Linked DNA regions of Homo sapiens: all the other regions are linked to region 1. The links are contacts of gene promoters, found by promoter capture Hi-C in blood cells and fetal thymus (Javierre and others, 2016). All regions are on one chromosome and are shown on one strand. Each heading gives the region's core, a stretch centred on a gene start or on the middle of the fragment in contact. The rest is flanking DNA. Distances are from core to core; before and after follow the strand shown. Region 1 holds the start of HCLS1 (hematopoietic cell-specific Lyn substrate 1). Region 2 holds the start of PARP15 (poly(ADP-ribose) polymerase family member 15). Region 3 overlaps KPNA1 (karyopherin subunit alpha 1). Region 4 overlaps MIX23 (mitochondrial matrix import factor 23). Region 5 has its middle 13 kb from the start of CSTA. Region 6 overlaps CASR (calcium sensing receptor).

Region 1 (2,658 bases), core at 53-2,552:
AGATGCTAAGGGGACACCGGAGAGATATTGACTGAGTCAGCCGGGAGTCATGGCTGAAAGCAGCTTGGCTTTCCCTGATGCGGTTGGAGACAGCAAAACATCCTTACTACCTGCATCCTTACTACCCCTCTGCTTCTCATCCCCTGGCTCCTGGGCTGCTGTGCAACAACAAAAGGACTGTCACACAGAAAACTGGAATGGAGAAGTTTCTGAAATAGTCATGAGCAATAAGGAAGCAATGAGGACTGATGGTCCCATCCTCCTTCCTGTGGCTCCTCTGAGGCCTCAGCCTGACTCTCCCATTCACCCATTTTTGAAATAAAGAGTTTCTGAAATAGAGACAATTTATCTAATATCCTTGACCTATTGACCAGAAACCAGAAAGGTAAGAAGTGCTATCTAGAGGTGAGAACCAGAGAGTAATCTGGTGAGGCCTTGTTGCGATGCTGACCTCCTGCATCAAAGTACACAGACTGGGAGTCAGAAGCCCTGGCTGTCACCCCAGCTCTGTGACTAAGCCTCTGAGGGACCATCACAAGGGCATCAACAGAGTAGGTACTCATTTGCCAGGTATCAGACCAGGCGATTAAGAAATACTAACTTTAATAATTTGGCAAATCAGCAATTATCTCTGATTTTCCCAGTGGAAAATAATGAAGGGGTTAACGTAGCTCATCTGTGGTCTCCTTGATTTCTGACATTCTGAGATTCTGTGATCTACGAACACAGAAACTAGCCCCAGCAGAACAATCATGCCTTCTCTTGGGCTCCATCAGCACTTGGTACTCAGTGCTAGTGTACATCAGTGACTACTTCCTGATCTGTTACATTTCCTGTGTGGGTTTGTTTCCCTGAGACCATATGCTCTTCAAGGGCAGACACTGTTTTCGTCTCCTGTGGTCCTCCTCCCAGCTCAGTACCTAGGGGAGACAGGCCTTAGAGTGGGTTGTAGATTGTCAGCAGAAACCAGGCAACACTTTGCTTGATGTTGGTGCTAGATGGCTCCTGAAACACTTGCCTTGGGTTTAAGCCCCTCCCTTTTGTTTCTATCTCCAGATGCTGATTTGCTACAACCACTCACAACCAGGCCTTCTGGCCATAAAAGGATAAAAGCCTACTAGTGGTGACCTTGCCCATCACCAAGGACTAAGAGCCAGGTAGGTTCCTCCTCAACTCTTACTCTGTGTTTCCCAACTGTCCCATGGCTCAGAGTACCCACCTCCACCTGTGCAAGCCTCTGTTCTAAGCGCCCGGCTCCTCGCGTCCACACCGACTCCCTCTCTGGCTGCTGCCACTTCGGAGTGAGAAACTGAGCTGCTGCTTCAGTTCCGTATTCAGGTTTTCGTCATTTCCTGCCACCCCATCCTCACAGCTACTTCCTGAAATTTGAGTCAGTTCCTTCTGCTTTAGACACTTAAATTTTAAAAGGATTAAATGTTTCTGTGCCTGGTCTTTTGCAAGGTTTTGACAATGGGGGTCATAGAGCAGTCATAGAAAATGCTGCTTTGACTCTGAGTTTGTAATCCAGTGAGAGAAACAAACATTCAACCAGAAAACACATTAGAGAATGCTGTAGAACAGCATTGTGTCCTAAATAGGGTGGCAGTTACATTTGAGACAGTAAAGGAATTCAGAGCATTTGGTATTGGGTGTATTCATCAAGAAAGGCTTTATGGGAAAAGTGATTTATATGTGGGTTTTGAAGCATAAGACTTAAAAAGAAACTCACCCCTATATTACCCACAGCACTTAAAAGTGGAGTTTTCATATAGATGTTCAAATAAACGTCGACCAATTGAATGCCAGAAGAGAATAACTCATGAGGGAAAAGGCAAGACATGGAAGGAGAGTTTCCTAGCTTGTTTGGGGCACTGTGGAGTCTGAGCTAACAAACTAAAGATTTGGCTCTAGAGCGTAGGAAGAATTCTGAAAGAACCAGGTGCTGGTCAGCTGATGGAAGAAGGTCTTTGTGGTATCCTGTTTTACTGCGTGTCAAGACTTGCTGCCCCTCCCTTCCCTCTTGAAGTCAGACTTACTCAGGTGACTTGTTTTGGCCAGTGACAGATACCACTTTCTGGCGGAGGCCGTAAGACCACTGCAAGCTTTGCCATGCTTTCACCACTGCCCAAGGCAACCTGCAATTCTCCATATTGGCTCCTCCAGCAGACTGGGTCCCTGAGTGAGAAAGAACACAAGTGGAGCCCCATCCACCATGTGGGGGAATTGGAGTCTTTCACTAAAAAATAGTCCTTTGTTTTGGCTACTGAGAATTTGAGGGTGTCTGTTATTGTATCTGACCTAGCCTTTCCTAATCTTGATTGTGGACTTCTTGATTTGTTCACAACGGTGCATCCTCCAAGGAGTTTAAGCAGGACTGGATGAAACTGGCCCATGATACAGGCACTTTTCTGCATTAGGAATATGAAGCCTCTGTCACTTCCAAATCTAAGGATTCTATGCCTGGGGGAGCTTTATTTATTCCTTCTACTTTATTACCTATTTATCATGGTGGTACCAAAGTTATGATAAGGAAGAGTACGTTTGTACAAGAGAAAAATCACTTGGAATCCTCATGTAGTGTCAAAATACGATTTAGACTAGATGATGTGACACACCATCCAGGTACATAGTTCTCTAGAGAAAATATAGAAATTAATC
Region 2 (2,658 bases), core at 112-2,611, 920 kb after region 1:
CCAAGTCCCTAGGGTTCAGTCACACCAGACTACAAGATTTTCCAAAGCACAGTCTATGCTTTCATTCATGTGATCTTTGTTCTGTGTAATCCACCCCCATCGCTGCTCTCTGCATGACAGATGATGAAAAAGGGAACTCTGAAGAGAGAGAGGGAGAGAGAGACACACCTCATTCTCATTCTTCACCTGATTTTCCTCTTAGAAAGTCCCCTACTCATCATGCAAGGTCTTACTGAAATGCCACTACTATAGAAACTTTTCTCCAATCTTGTCTCTAAATTACAACGAACCACTGATTTCTGTTATCCTAATACTTTATATGTATCTCAATGCAAATACGATACCAAAACCTTTTACCCTGCTCTCTGCCTTGGAGGTGGTACTGAGGGCTGACCTCTAAGTACCACATCAGCTCCATTCTCTGATTACTCATTGGGTTCTGCAGTGGGAGGTACCAGCACGAGATTGGAAGGCACACGGAGAGAGTACTTGGGATGCTTATACTCCCCTGGCTGTCTTCCGAAAGCAGTCATGGGTTCTACCTGCTGGCACTTGGTATAGCTCTTACCAAGTTCAGGAGATGCCCCCTCCCTTGCCCCTTCAGCCTAGATGGTAAGGGGAGGAGGCTACTTCACCATCTCTCAATGGTTTCCTTAACCCTTTGCCCACACCTGTGTAAATAATTTCTTTATTAAATTATCTTCAATTATTAATTTTGAGTATACCATCTGTATACTGCCAGGACTTTTCGTGATACACCAGGTAACAGTATTAATCTATGTTTTATTTCTCCACCTCCTACTTCACCCCTCACTCCAAAGAGAGGGGATCTGTGTCTAATTCATCTTTATAATCTTAACACAGTGCCAGGCATATCAAAGGCCTTCAATACGCGTTGATTGAATTAAATAATGCCCTGTTGGGCCAGAGGGGAACCTGACTCCAGCCCTGGCTTAGGGAGCACAGGAGAGAACCCAGTGTATTTTTCTAAATATGGGTGTGTAGGGAGAATTGGGGGGAAAGGAGTGGGATGCCCAACAGAAAAGGAAAGGAATACTGATTCCTGTGTTTTAATGTGCCAGGCATTCTACAGACTTTATCTCATTTAATCTTCATTATAATAACATGAAATAGTTATGGCTGTGCCCACTGTACAGATGCTATTGACTGAGGCTACATAACTAATAAAATTGCAGACCTCAGGATTTTGACCCAGGATTTGTCTGGCAGTAACGTCTGTCCCAAAGGGCGACACAATCCTGAGGCAGCTGTTCGCAAACTCGAGGCCTCAATCTTTGACGGAAGCGGTTTTCAGAGAAAAGAAGTTCGAGGCACAAGCCTGTTGGGTGGGGCGCAACTGCAGTCCCAGCGAGCTGAGGATGGCTGCGCCAGGCCCCCTTCCTGCCGCTGCTCTGAGTCCAGGGGCTCCGACCCCCAGAGAACTTATGCACGGAGTTGCAGGTGTTACTTCCAGAGCCGGACGAGATCGGGAGGCGGGGAGCGTGCTGCCGGCCGGGAACCGTGGGGCGCGGAAGGCCTCCCGGCGCTCTTCCTCCCGGAGTATGGTGAGGAGCGCGGGGGACGGGTGCGGGAAGGGGACAGCAGGGCTGAGCCTGGGGCCCGCAAGACCCAGCAGCCCGAGCGGGCGCAGAGACCCCACGCCACGCACAACCCTCTCTTCTAGGGGGCGCCGACTACACTGACTTCCCTGTTCCGGAAGAGGGGGATGCGTGCTGCTTCTTTTTCCTTAGCATTTCTGGTGGTTTTTTTTTTTTTTCCCTTAAAATTTAAAAGTTCTTTATAAAGTTTGAAAGGATATGAGTCCTTTATTCGTGATATGTGTTATGAATATGTCCTCCCAATTTATTTTTTGTTTTTTGAGTTTGCTTATGGGGGGCTTTTGTTTCTCTTTGCCATGCAAATATTTTAAATTTTGTGTGGCAAGACTTACCAGTCTTTTATTTTATGACGTCTAGACTTTTAGTCATATTTTAATATATGACTTTTAGTCATACTCTTCCCTACACCCAAGTTATAGAAGAGTTCACTCATGCTTGCTTCTAGTACTTGAACTGATGTATTTTTTACATTTAGATCTATAATACATTTGGAGTGTGTTATTGTGTGTGGTTTGAGGAGTGAATCTAATTATTTTTTTTCAAATGGGTATCAAGTGTCCCAACACCATTTATTATAAAGGTCGTCACTGTCCCAGTAACTTGAGATACCAGCTTTATCATGTACTAGACTTTCATATGTGGTTCGGGTATTTCTGGACCTTCTATTTTCATCCATTGACCCGTTTATTCATCTGCTTTAGAGAGGCTTTGCTGTATGTTTTAATGTCAGGGCTAGTCTTCCTAGAGAGTGCTTCCTTGTCACTATTTTCCTAGCTATTCTTGTTGTTTATTTTTCCTTATGAACTTTTCTGATGTATGATCAGTTTAAAAAAAAAAAAGAAAAGCTCTTTGGAATTTTTATTGGGATTGCATTAAATTAATAAATTACAGAGAGCTGATATCTTTAGGTGGTGTTGACATGGTCTAACCTACTGTGCTGTGAAAGATTGAAAATTTGAGTATGTAATGTATATGATATTAAATTGTGAATTGGTGGGACATATGTAACAGCTTTTCAACAATTGTAGATACTGGTACT
Region 3 (2,658 bases), core at 119-2,618, 850 kb after region 1:
TCAGAAATTTAAGATAAAAATTTAAAGGACCTTGTACGATCTGATGTGTGACAAGAACTGAGAAGCATAATTCATTCTAAAATTCTTTTTGCCTAACATCCAAATAATAACAAAAACTTTCGAGAACTAAAGGACATGAACTCCCAGCTTATAAAGGTCCATGGAATGCCCTTAAACAAAAAAATACCCATACCTAGACACATCATCATGGAATTTTGAGGGTTAAAAATATCCTAAAAGCTTCTAGAGATTGGGGTAAAGGAAGATCACATACAAACAAAGAATCAGATTGGCTTTGGATTTCAAGAGTAACCCTGGAAGAAAGAAAACAATAGAACTATGACTTGCAAACTTGAAGTAGAAGTTACTTTCAACTCAGAATTTTATACCCAGACAAATTACTGATCAAATGCGAAGGAAGAATAAAGATTTTTTTCAGTCATGTAAGATGTCAGGAAGTTTTTGTTTTCCATGTATCCTTTCTCAGAAAGCTACTAAAAAATGTACTCCAAGGAAATAAGTAAACCAAGAAAGAAAATACAGGAAACAGTAAACAGGGGAACCAGTACAAAAGAGGGCAAAGAAGTTTAAGGATGATGAAAAGAGAAGTCCCTGGATAACAACTATGAAATAGGCCTAGAAAGTAACCAGTCCTAATTGCATTAAGAGGTTCCAGGTTAGCTGTCTCAGGAAATGAAGCAAACAACAACAAAAAATACTAACTTGTAGAAAAACAAAAATTTATTAAGAGAAGAAATGATATCACAGTACTCTACATGGGTCAGCTGTGAACATTTATAGAGTTACAATATTGTAAACACTAAATATTGGTTTAGTAGACACACCTGTGATAACTATATTTGGAGGATGGTAGAGACAGTGTGTGCATATGGCAGGTGAGGTGAATATATATGTGAAACACTAAGGAACATCTTGCTTAGACGAAAGCCAATAATATCTATAATTGCTATATCATGATATAGCAATAAAAGCAAGTCACTGTATTTATAAATATGAAAGCAAACACAAGAGGAAACAGCTAGAAGAAAGAAAATGGTAGCTTTTCAAGTGCAGAGGCTGGGACAGGGAACAGCTGCTTTTCAGGTATTCTAATTCCAAAATTTTATTTTTTTAATGTTGATAAAACAAGGAACTTGAACAATCTCACGACGGTTATATTAGATCTTCAGTATTATTTCATGGTGTTAAACTACATCTAGTTTGTTCTGCCAAAGAGACTGAACGGCTAAAACCAATCTTTAACGATCAATGTGAACACAGTACAAACAGCCCTATTTGAATCCCAACTCCACTACTTTGTGAAGTAAGGCGAGTTACCCAATCACCTTGCACACGTAATCACCTCCTCAAAATGGTTTTGCAAGAACAAGTAAGTGAAAGCACCTGATGCAGAACCTGACCCATCAATAGATGTCAGAGTACTTTCAGCGGGTCTTTCTGTTCCCTAGCTGACCCCAAGCTGCCTATTCTGACCCCAAGCTGCCTATTCTGACCCCAACCTGCCTTGTTGCTCACAGAGTATATAGGCACTCATGGACTCAGCACATATCCCTCCTCACGCTGGAAAAACAATCATGATGAGTAAGCAGACTTATCTTTGTATATGAAGGGCAGCATTATTCTTGTTAATATGAAGGAGATTATCTCCATTATCCACATTCTGGATTACTGCCTGCTTTCAAGAACTGTCCCAATTAGTCTACAACACTTGGACAGAACCATTTTTTCATGTTGTTTTGTAGGTTTGTAACATCTTTAAAAAAAAGAAAGAAAGAAACATACATTCCCACAGTCTTCATCCCTACTCTTCCAATGTACAACCTCAAAATTTTCTAATGCAGGCCCTATCTGGCCCTCAGTTGGCCTCAGGCCATCTCCTGCTTACTGCAGCAAAAGACAGAAATCAGCCCAAATCAGCTAATTTAACTGTTTACCATTTCCAGTGTTTTCTTCCCTATTATGGCTAAATTCATAACACCATGCAAAGTACAAAGATACCTTAAAACAAAACAAGGAGTTATCTTTATCACTAGGTCAGTCATCTTTACTTGCAAGACCAATCAAAGGTCTTAACTGATTTTATACACAGTACTCATACATCTAAAAACAATCTGGTAGACTTAAAAGCACAGACATCATAAATCATTAAAACTCTATTTTATCATTAATTCAACAAACACTGTGCTAAAACACTGAAGATGCAAAGAATAAGATATAATCCTATTCTCAAATGTAAAGGGAAAAGGGAAAAGGTAAAAGGACCATTGAGAGCAACAGAGAATAAAGAAAATAATGCAAGAAACAACTGACAGCAATTCCAGGTTACGTATAAAATAATTCTTAACATAGTTGAGACTAAAGAAAATTATAAAAATTGAACACAGCTCTGAGACTCCTGACAGTCAAAGTATAGAGAAACAGGATGGCTTACAAAACAAAAATAATCTAATAAAACCAATCATTAGTTTAAAAAAAAAAAGCTTAATACTGGGGTCTTAGGAAGAATTTGTCTCTAAGGTCTGTATTTTATAGGAACCAATACATAAATTAGAAATTTCTTCATTAGATATTAATGAAGAAAAGATGTTTTTAATGGCCCCTTTGGTAAGTATCAGCTCTAGATAAGATGTATATTAA
Region 4 (2,658 bases), core at 58-2,557, 710 kb after region 1:
AACTGTCACCTTTGAGACAGTTGTCTTTGAGACTGTAGGTCTTCAACAGGTAAACTTAAGGCCACTAACATGTGACAGCAGTTATAGAGGTCCAGCAACGAAGGTGCTTTTTTTGAGTTAAATATTCAGGTAAACTAGTGGGGATTTTTTGACTGGCATCTGTCTATAAATGAAATATACTCACTAAAGTATCTGACTATTAGTCACAACTTAAAGAAACTGACTGAATGCAGGGTCAGAAGAGATGGGTTAAAGTCCCAGTTCTACCACTTACTAGCTTGTGGCTTTGGGGGTGTCAGTTAGTATCTCAAGTATCTCTGAGTCTTTTTCCTCAGATAGAAAATGAAGAGGTAGAGCTGTACCATCTCCAAGAGCTCTCTCTGATTCCATAATCTTCATAGCAAACTTGAAAATTGAAAAAAAAAATTCACATTTCCTTATTTGCTTATGTACTACCCCATGGTTACCCCCAACCCTATATGTTATCAAGCTAGAAAGCAAACCTCATGCAACTCACTGATTGGTTTCTAAACCCTCCTTGCAGTGGTCATCCTGGTGATTCTATCTGGGCCCTAAAGACACAAGGGCAGATCTCAAGGCTGAGCAAATTGTGTGTCACAATCATTCCCAAACACTCAGTAGAGTTTTGAACTTTGCTCTCCACTAATGAGTCACTCTGTTGTTTGACTTGATCTGCAAACAGTGACTTTTCAGTTTCCAATTTAACAGCCTTTGCCCTGCAGTTTCCTTTGTCAACACCTTCAAGGGCGTTGAAATACAAACTCCAAAATTACTAGACTTTCACCAGTTTTATATAAATTATCTATATGCCGGCTGGACACGGTGGCTCATGCCTGTAATCCCAGCACTTTGGGAAGCTGAGACGGGCAGATCACAAGGTCAGGAGTTCGAGACCAGTCTGGCCAACATGGTGAAACCCTGTCTCTACTAAAAATACAAAAAAAAATTAGCTGGACGTGGTGGCAGGCACCTGTAACCCCAGCTACTAGGGAGGCTGAGGCAGGAGAATCTCTTGAACCTGGGAGGCGGAAGTTTCAGTGAGCCAAGATTGCACCACTGCACTCCAGCCCAGGCGATAGTGCGAGACTCCATCTCAAAAATAAATAAATAAATAAATAAATAAATAAATAAATAAATAAATAATCTATATGCCTTCATGAACAGCAAGGGGAGTAAGATCAACATCACTGCATAAGGTCACTGTCCAAGGGATCCACCAGTGCCTGTGGCATGAGCAGGTATGGAATACAGACCTGACGCAGTAGTCATGAACAAAGAGAGCAGCAAAGACAGTGGCTGAGTCCTGGATCCAGTGAGACATCCAGAATTGGCGGAATGATCGAAAAAGTGCAGCAGCCTGGCCTACTCACCTTGTGTGCAGCCAGCTACAAGGAAAGAGGTTTCTTTTCTTTTCTACTAATAGTTTTCAATAGATGACGAGGTCCCCTTTTCAAAGTTCAGCTACATCTACTAAACAAAGGGCAAACTTCATGACTGTGCAGTATGAAAAGCATGACTCAATCCCACAAGGATCCGTAAGTCACCTATTATGCCATCTTAAAATACAAACATGAAGTCAGGTGTGATGGCTCACACCTATAATCCTAGCACTTTGGGAGGCTGAGGAAGGTGGATCACTTTGAGCTCAGGAGTTTGAGATAAACCCGTGTAACATGGTGAGACTCCATCTCTACCCAAAATACAAAAAATAAGCTGGGTGTGGTGGTTCGCGCCCGTAGTCCCAGCTACTGGGGAGGCTGAGGCAGGATTGCTTGAGCCCCAGAACCAGAGGTTGCAGTAAGCTGAGATTGCAACACTGCACTCCAGCCTAGGTGACAGAGTGAGACCCCATCTCAAAAAACAAAAAAAAAACCATGATTTTGATAATTGTACACTGGTCCTGTAGGAAAAGTCCCTGTTCTTAGAAATAACTAATGAGTTTAAGGGTAAAGTGGTACAATGTGTATAACATAGTCTCAAAATGGTTCATGAAAAAACTGTATTTATGCATACAGGTGTGTGGGGAGACAGGGAGAGGGAGGAAGGCAGGGAAGGATGAAGAGAAGGAGAGAGGGAGGGTGAAGAGAAGGAGAGAGGGAGGGTGAAGAGAATGAACTGTAAAGCAGGTGGGGCAACATATAAACAATAAGTGAATATAGGTAAAGGGCACATGGGAGTTCCTTACACTATTCTTACAACTTTTTGGTAAGTTTGAAATTATACAAGATAAAAAGTTACCCCCTAAGAGTCCCCTCAAAAGAAAGACAGCAATAAATCCCACATAATAAAATATGCTGTATTTTTCTATTGTTTCCTTGACACGTCACATACAAGTGCTGTAAAGAAACAGTTCTGCTGCATTAACTGTATTCTGAAGTCTACACCCTATCTACATTATAGTTGATTTGGGAAAATAAGGCTTCCTCTGACACATCCCTAGGTAGGTACTTGCTATTTTCTTAAAAGTAAAAACACTGCAGGGATAGGGGAGGAAATGGGAAAAAGTCATGTCCAAGAAAAAGCCAAAGATCCCTAGCAACTTTTACACAGTAGGGAAATAAATTATAATGAGGTACAAGTAAATCTGGTTATATTTAAATCATACTATATTTTTATGGCTAACGAGGGTAATATCCT
Region 5 (2,658 bases), core at 56-2,555, 650 kb after region 1:
AGAACCTGTTGTGTAAACATCTGGTCTAACTACTTGTCCTAGACTTCGTAACTGCTGACCCCACCCTCTCTCTTCAGGCTCTGCTCTGTCTCATTTATTTCAGGAGAAATCTGACAGCCTCACCTTCTCACATAGGCTTGTAGGTCAGATAAGGTAGAGGAATGGTATCAGAAGCAGGAACAGCACTGGTCTTAGGCATAACTAGTGAAAAATTTTGAATGTGATGAAGAAGAGCTCCCCTGTCATTGCCAAATCTGGGCACACAAATACGGTCACACTGTGAGGTACTGTGGGTTAGAACTTCAACATATGAATTTAGGTGGGGACACAGTTCAAACCATAACAGGCATGAAGGATCAATAGAAATCAGGCTGGCAAACGGAAGCAAAAGGAAGTGTTTCCAACCTAAGCAAAGAAGCAAGAGGAATAGGGCACCTTAGGAGAACTTGATAGGAGCCAGGTCAGAGAGGGCTGTGCTAAAGACTGAGAAGTACACTCTAAGGATAACGGAAAACTATTGAAGGACTTTCATTAAGGAAATAATACAATTGGCTTTGCTTTCTAGAAGAAATATTTGGATATTGTGTGTAGAAAGAGGAGCATGGTTGCAGGAGGAGGCCAGGGGAAGCTATTGCTGTTCTTCAGCGGTGAGATAACCATGGCCTGAGCCAGGGTAGTGCAGGCCAGATGGACAGAAGTGAGGGGAGTCGATGTAACTGACAAGCACTGGGAATTCCTGGATGAGAGAGCTGAGCATGAAAGAAGACTGGAGGATAACACCCATCTTTCTGACTTGGGAAATGAGAAGACCAAGGCATGGACTGTGAAAGGATGACAATATACAGGAGAAGGTAAAGGAGTCAGTCAGAAGTAGACCCTGTAACCAAGAGACCACCCAATATTATCCACCCAACATCTCTACTAAGTGCCACATTTTACATTATGAAAGGAAAGAAGAAAAACTACTTAGGTATCCAACCTGGCTTGGTTATAGTGATGAGACTTTTATCTCTTCTATTTCAAATATTGAAAAATTAACCCAAAAATCGAAATGCATCCTTCTATCCGGTTTTACTTTCTTCATCTCCCTTTATATTTCTAGACCCTTCACAATGCAGCTGAGGACAAAAAACGTAAGGATGGTTGCTATAGTTTATAAGGTGTCTGGAAACAAAAATATGTTTCCATTTAGGAACACTAACTACATATATACCAGACACGGAGTTAAATTTTCTACATACATTTTCCATTTAATTCTCACAACCCTGTGAGGTAGTTATTATTATCTTCATTTTACAGACAAGGAAACAGATGCTCAGAAAGGTGAAGTCACCTGCCCAGGTTTACACAGCTATGCAGATTATTGAATTCAGCTGTCCCTCACTCCAAAGGGACATGCTCAGCTCTCTCATTCAGGAATTCCCAGTGCTTGTCAGTTACACCGACTCCCCTCACTTCTGTCCATCTGGCCTGCACTACCCTGTTAACTGCTGTGGTACTCTACCTCCAGAAAGCCCTCTTTTGAAAATTGGGATGAAGTTAAAGCCATTCCACAAAAGCCTTCTTTTTTTCATACCTTTTTTTACTGAAAAATAATAAAATATTCTTAGTAAAACATCCCACGAACTTGAGCTCCATTTTAGAATACGGTATGAATAATGCTCCTGGAACTGTGCAACCCAGCAGGTCCATAACTGTGCTGGCTGGGATCAAACTACCAGGCCTCAGGCTTAATTCAGGCCATGTATAGAGACTGCCAACCAACTCACTTATACGAACAGACTTGTTAAGTTACTGATCAAACTGTCCAAGCATCTGGGCCATCCCTTGGCCAGCAATGCAGAGAAACTGGAGCCCTGTGATCATCAGGGAATATAACCTTGAACTCCTGGCTGTTCTGTTGTATTTTCTTTACTTTGGATTCTTTTTTTTTTTTTCTTTTTTTTTTTTTGACGAAGTCTCACTCTGTTGCCCAAGCTGGAGTGCAGTGGCGTGATCTCGGCTCACTACAATCTCCACCTCCCAGGTTCAAGCGATTCTCCTGCTTCAGCCTCCTGAGTAGCTGAGACTACAGGCAGGCGCCACCGTGCCCGGCTAATTTTTGTATTTTTAGTAGAGACGGGATTTCACTATGTTGGCCAGGCAGGTCTTGAACTCCTGACCTCATGATCCACCCGCCTCAGCCTCCCAAAGTGCTGGGATTACAGGCGTGAGCCACAGCGCCTGGCCTAAAACTTGACAAAGACATGTTTATCCAATGCCCTTCAAGGACTCCAGAAGTCCATGTTGGCTGGTTGCCCTCTTCTCCCAATGAGAAAGTGGTGAGATCTATGAATTTGTTCACATATTTGCTGGGCAGCTGCTGTGTTTCATAATCTGGGAGATGTGATGGCTAACAATCAAGACAACAGTTTCTGCCATGGAAGAGATTATAATCAGATCAGCAAGAAGATAAACAGAAAATATATGTGTAATAACTGAGATAACAGGAATATGTAGTACAAACCAAGAACTAGAGGAAACCACAGAAGGCTTTGGGTAGTGTGGTTTTTGAAAGCAGTATTGCATGTAGATTAATGGAGAACAGAAGGAATGACATCCTTTTCAAGGGGCATTGTATGAACAAGGAGACAGGAGCAAGAATGAGAATGAGAAAGA
Region 6 (2,658 bases), core at 91-2,590, 580 kb after region 1:
AATAAGTAATGGAAGAATCAGAGTGGAAAGAGTTATTTGTAAGGCCTCTGTATAGCAGGCTGACCCTAGTCATCTCTTACCCTGACCAGCTGGACAGGAGTCACTCACTGAGGCTCAGGCTATGTGGACTAATCCAACTTCAAAGTCAGGTTTATAGAAACATGTGTGGGCTTCTTTGGGGAAAGTTTATCTGAGACAGTGTTCCTCCGGACCAGCTTCGGGTGTCATTAGCAACAGAGAATCTTCTCATAGAGACAACTGAATGTAGTATGTTCCAGGATTTATTTTTTAAATGCTGGTTCCTGATTCTTCTGGGCAAAGCCGAAGAAGGCAGAGAGACACTGAGAGTGCACTGCATCAGCACAGATTGTGGAATGTTTAGGACCATTTCAGTTCCCAAAGAAAGAGCCCCTGAAGAGCTCATAGAAAGGGCTCGCAGGAGAGTAGAGAAGGACCAGGGAGTGCTGGACACTTCTAACAGTCACAGGTGCTGTGACTTCTAACAGTTGCAGGTAAACAGGGTCCCAGACCTTCCCATCTGGGACTGATGGATTGATTGTGAAGAATATATACTCATTCCACAAATTTAAAAAGGGAATTAATAATGAAAGACTTAAGTGTAAAGTAGAGCACCCAAGACTCTGCTCGGAAAGGTAGACGCAAATGATAACCACATAGGTAAATCCCCTGCATGTGGCTGGGAAGAGAGGGTGAGAAGTAGTCTATCTATGGTTAGTGGCCATTTTCTCTAGTTCACAGACCATGCATATTGATTATAGATTCAGAAAGTTACCCTAACTTTACAGCAATGACTTCTGAACTGTGCTTTCCTGGAATACTGGTTTCATAAGATGTTAGCAGTTATTTTGCAGGAGAAAGGTTTCAGGGAAACCGAAGAATGAATTGACATTGACAGGAAACTGTTGTGTATCCATTCAAAATACATTTTTGTTTGGCTGTGTTATCCTTGGAGAAAAGTAATAGTATCAGAAGAATCCTGGGCAATACAGCAAGGTCCTGTCTCTACAAAATTTTTTAAAAAATAGCCTGGGGTAGTGGCATGTTCCTATAGTTTTAGTTACTCAGGAATCTGAGGCAGGAGGATCACGAGCCCAGGAGTTCTAGACTGCGGTGAGCTATGATCATGGCACTGCACTCCAACCTGGGCAACATAGTGAGACCATGTCTCTAAAAATGATAATACATAAATAAAATTACATTTAAACAATCATTTTTAGGAAACACAATTTTTAGAGCTCAGAACAGAATATGACCCTGGACAGATGCATATGAAAGACGGTCTAGCAATGGCTTTCAAACTTCTTAAAACACAGGTTGCTGGTCCCACACCCAGAGTTTCTGATTCAGTAGGTTGGGATGGGATTCGTGTTTCTAACAAGTTCCCAAGTGATGGTGCTGATGCTCGTCCAAGGACCACAATTTAAGACTCACTTCCCTGCACCCGGCCCCATGCCCAACAGATAGGAGGCTCTTTTTACAGTAACAAGAAGTTTCTTTCTGAGGGTTACCACATTAAAAGAAATCAATTGAATGGGTTTCCACCATGTGTGAGGATATATTGGCTGACCCAGCATCAAAGTCAGGGTTAGAAACATCCATGGGCTTATTTGGGGAAAGTTTATTCCAGACAGTCTTCCTCCAGAACAGCTTCAGGTGTCCTTAGCAATGGAGAATCTTCTCATAGAGGCAACTGAATGTAGCATGTTCCAAAATTCATTCTTTAAATGCTGGTTCATGATTCTTCCGGGCAAAGCTGAAGGGGCCAGCTAATAAATCAACACATATTTCCTGACATTTCCTGACAGGGAGACATGTTCCTTCAAAAATGGGAACAAAATTCATAATGAATTTAGTGGGGAGGCATAGTTCTTCAAAAATAAAATTCAGTTTGAACATTTTCAATCTGAGATATTTGGGGATTAAAAAAACAGATATAGGTTCTGAAGGGACTACTCAAGCAAATGTATATTAGGAAATCAAGGAGGCCCTAGAAGGCCAGAATATGGACATGAGTCAGCCAAATTGTGGAGTTATGGACAAAAGCTAACAAACACATCTTGAAATCTCCAGTGGGACGCAAATTCTTTTAACCTCAGGTCAGCCCCAAATCATGGTACCAATTTCTGTTAACATGCTCTAAAAAATGACATGAAGAACTTAGAATAGGTTCTTGGCATATTAACAAATATATCTAGAAAAATATGAAGTAGTCCTAAGCAGAAAGGTTTGAAAGAAATTTGGATAGTTAAGCCTGAAAAAAAAGTGAAGGTGATTCTATCTTTAAATTAATGAAAATTTTTGTCTCTGGCCTTTCATTGCAGTGGTAAATTAGGCAAGAATAAATGGCCTTAATTTTAAAATAGATGTGATTTTAGTTAACTGTGAGGTAAAATCTTCTTTAAAATGGGGTAATGAAACACTGGAGGCTTGTTATTTTGGGCCTGGAAATTTGTAGAGATGCTAATTGTAGCTAACAGTACTTATGCTTTTTTTTTTTTTTTTTTGACAGAGTCTTGCTCTGTCACCAAGCTGGAGTGCAGTGGTGTGATCTTGGCTCACTGCAACCTCCACCACCCGGGTTCAAGCGATTCTTCTGCCTCAGCCTCCCAAGTAGCTGGGATTACAGGAGTGCACCAC

Evidence for each region. The method cuts DNA at HindIII sites, captures the fragments that hold promoters and counts their contacts. A CHiCAGO score of 5 or more calls a contact.
Region 2: the fragment with the promoter of PARP15 here is called in contact with the fragment with the promoter of HCLS1 in region 1 in 1 of 17 cell types (total CD4 T cells); the score reaches 6.5 in total CD4 T cells.
Region 3: a contact is called between a fragment that was not itself captured here and the fragment with the promoter of HCLS1 in region 1, in 3 of 17 cell types (naive CD4 T cells, monocytes and total CD8 T cells). The highest score is 6.7, in naive CD4 T cells.
Region 4: a fragment that was not itself captured here is called in contact with the fragment with the promoter of HCLS1 in region 1 in 3 of 17 cell types (activated CD4 T cells, erythroblasts and naive CD8 T cells); the score reaches 7.0 in activated CD4 T cells.
Region 5: a fragment that was not itself captured here is called in contact with the fragment with the promoter of HCLS1 in region 1 in 1 of 17 cell types (M0 macrophages); the score reaches 5.9 in M0 macrophages.
Region 6: a contact is called between a fragment that was not itself captured here and the fragment with the promoter of HCLS1 in region 1, in 1 of 17 cell types (erythroblasts). The highest score is 5.1, in erythroblasts.

Annotation. Positions count from the first base shown.
Region 1 is chr3:121,659,601-121,662,258 of GRCh38, forward strand. HCLS1 (hematopoietic cell-specific Lyn substrate 1) reads right to left here and starts at 1,303. Exons shown (of 14, transcript NM_005335.6): 1 at 1,220-1,303. RefSeq lists enhancers at 1,146-1,335, 1,526-1,575. The HindIII fragment of the contact is 5,970 bases long and covers 1-2,100 here.
Region 2 is chr3:122,576,289-122,578,946 of GRCh38, forward strand. PARP15 (poly(ADP-ribose) polymerase family member 15) reads left to right here and starts at 1,362. Exons shown (of 12, transcript NM_001113523.3): 1 at 1,362-1,565. The coding sequence starts at 1,380. RefSeq lists an enhancer at 1,329-1,608 and a silencer at 1,669-1,718. The HindIII fragment of the contact is 6,929 bases long and covers 1-2,658 here.
Region 3 is chr3:122,509,726-122,512,383 of GRCh38, forward strand. All of the region lies in intron 1 of KPNA1 (karyopherin subunit alpha 1), which reads right to left. Among named protein-coding and RNA genes, the nearest start is that of KPNA1, 3.9 kb to the right of the region's middle. The HindIII fragment of the contact is 2,261 bases long and covers 239-2,499 here.
Region 4 is chr3:122,365,062-122,367,719 of GRCh38, forward strand. The region is part of intron 3 of MIX23 (mitochondrial matrix import factor 23); the gene reads right to left. Among named protein-coding and RNA genes, the nearest start is that of MIX23, 17 kb to the right of the region's middle. RefSeq lists an enhancer at 583-727 and a cis regulatory region at 648-661. The HindIII fragment of the contact is 6,376 bases long and covers 1-2,658 here.
Region 5 is chr3:122,310,548-122,313,205 of GRCh38, forward strand. No RefSeq gene overlaps it. Among named protein-coding and RNA genes, the nearest start is that of CSTA, 13 kb to the right of the region's middle. The HindIII fragment of the contact is 3,199 bases long and covers 1-2,658 here.
Region 6 is chr3:122,234,606-122,237,263 of GRCh38, forward strand. All of the region lies in intron 1 of CASR (calcium sensing receptor), which reads left to right. Among named protein-coding and RNA genes, the nearest start is that of CASR, 52 kb to the left of the region's middle. The HindIII fragment of the contact is 3,458 bases long and covers 1-2,658 here.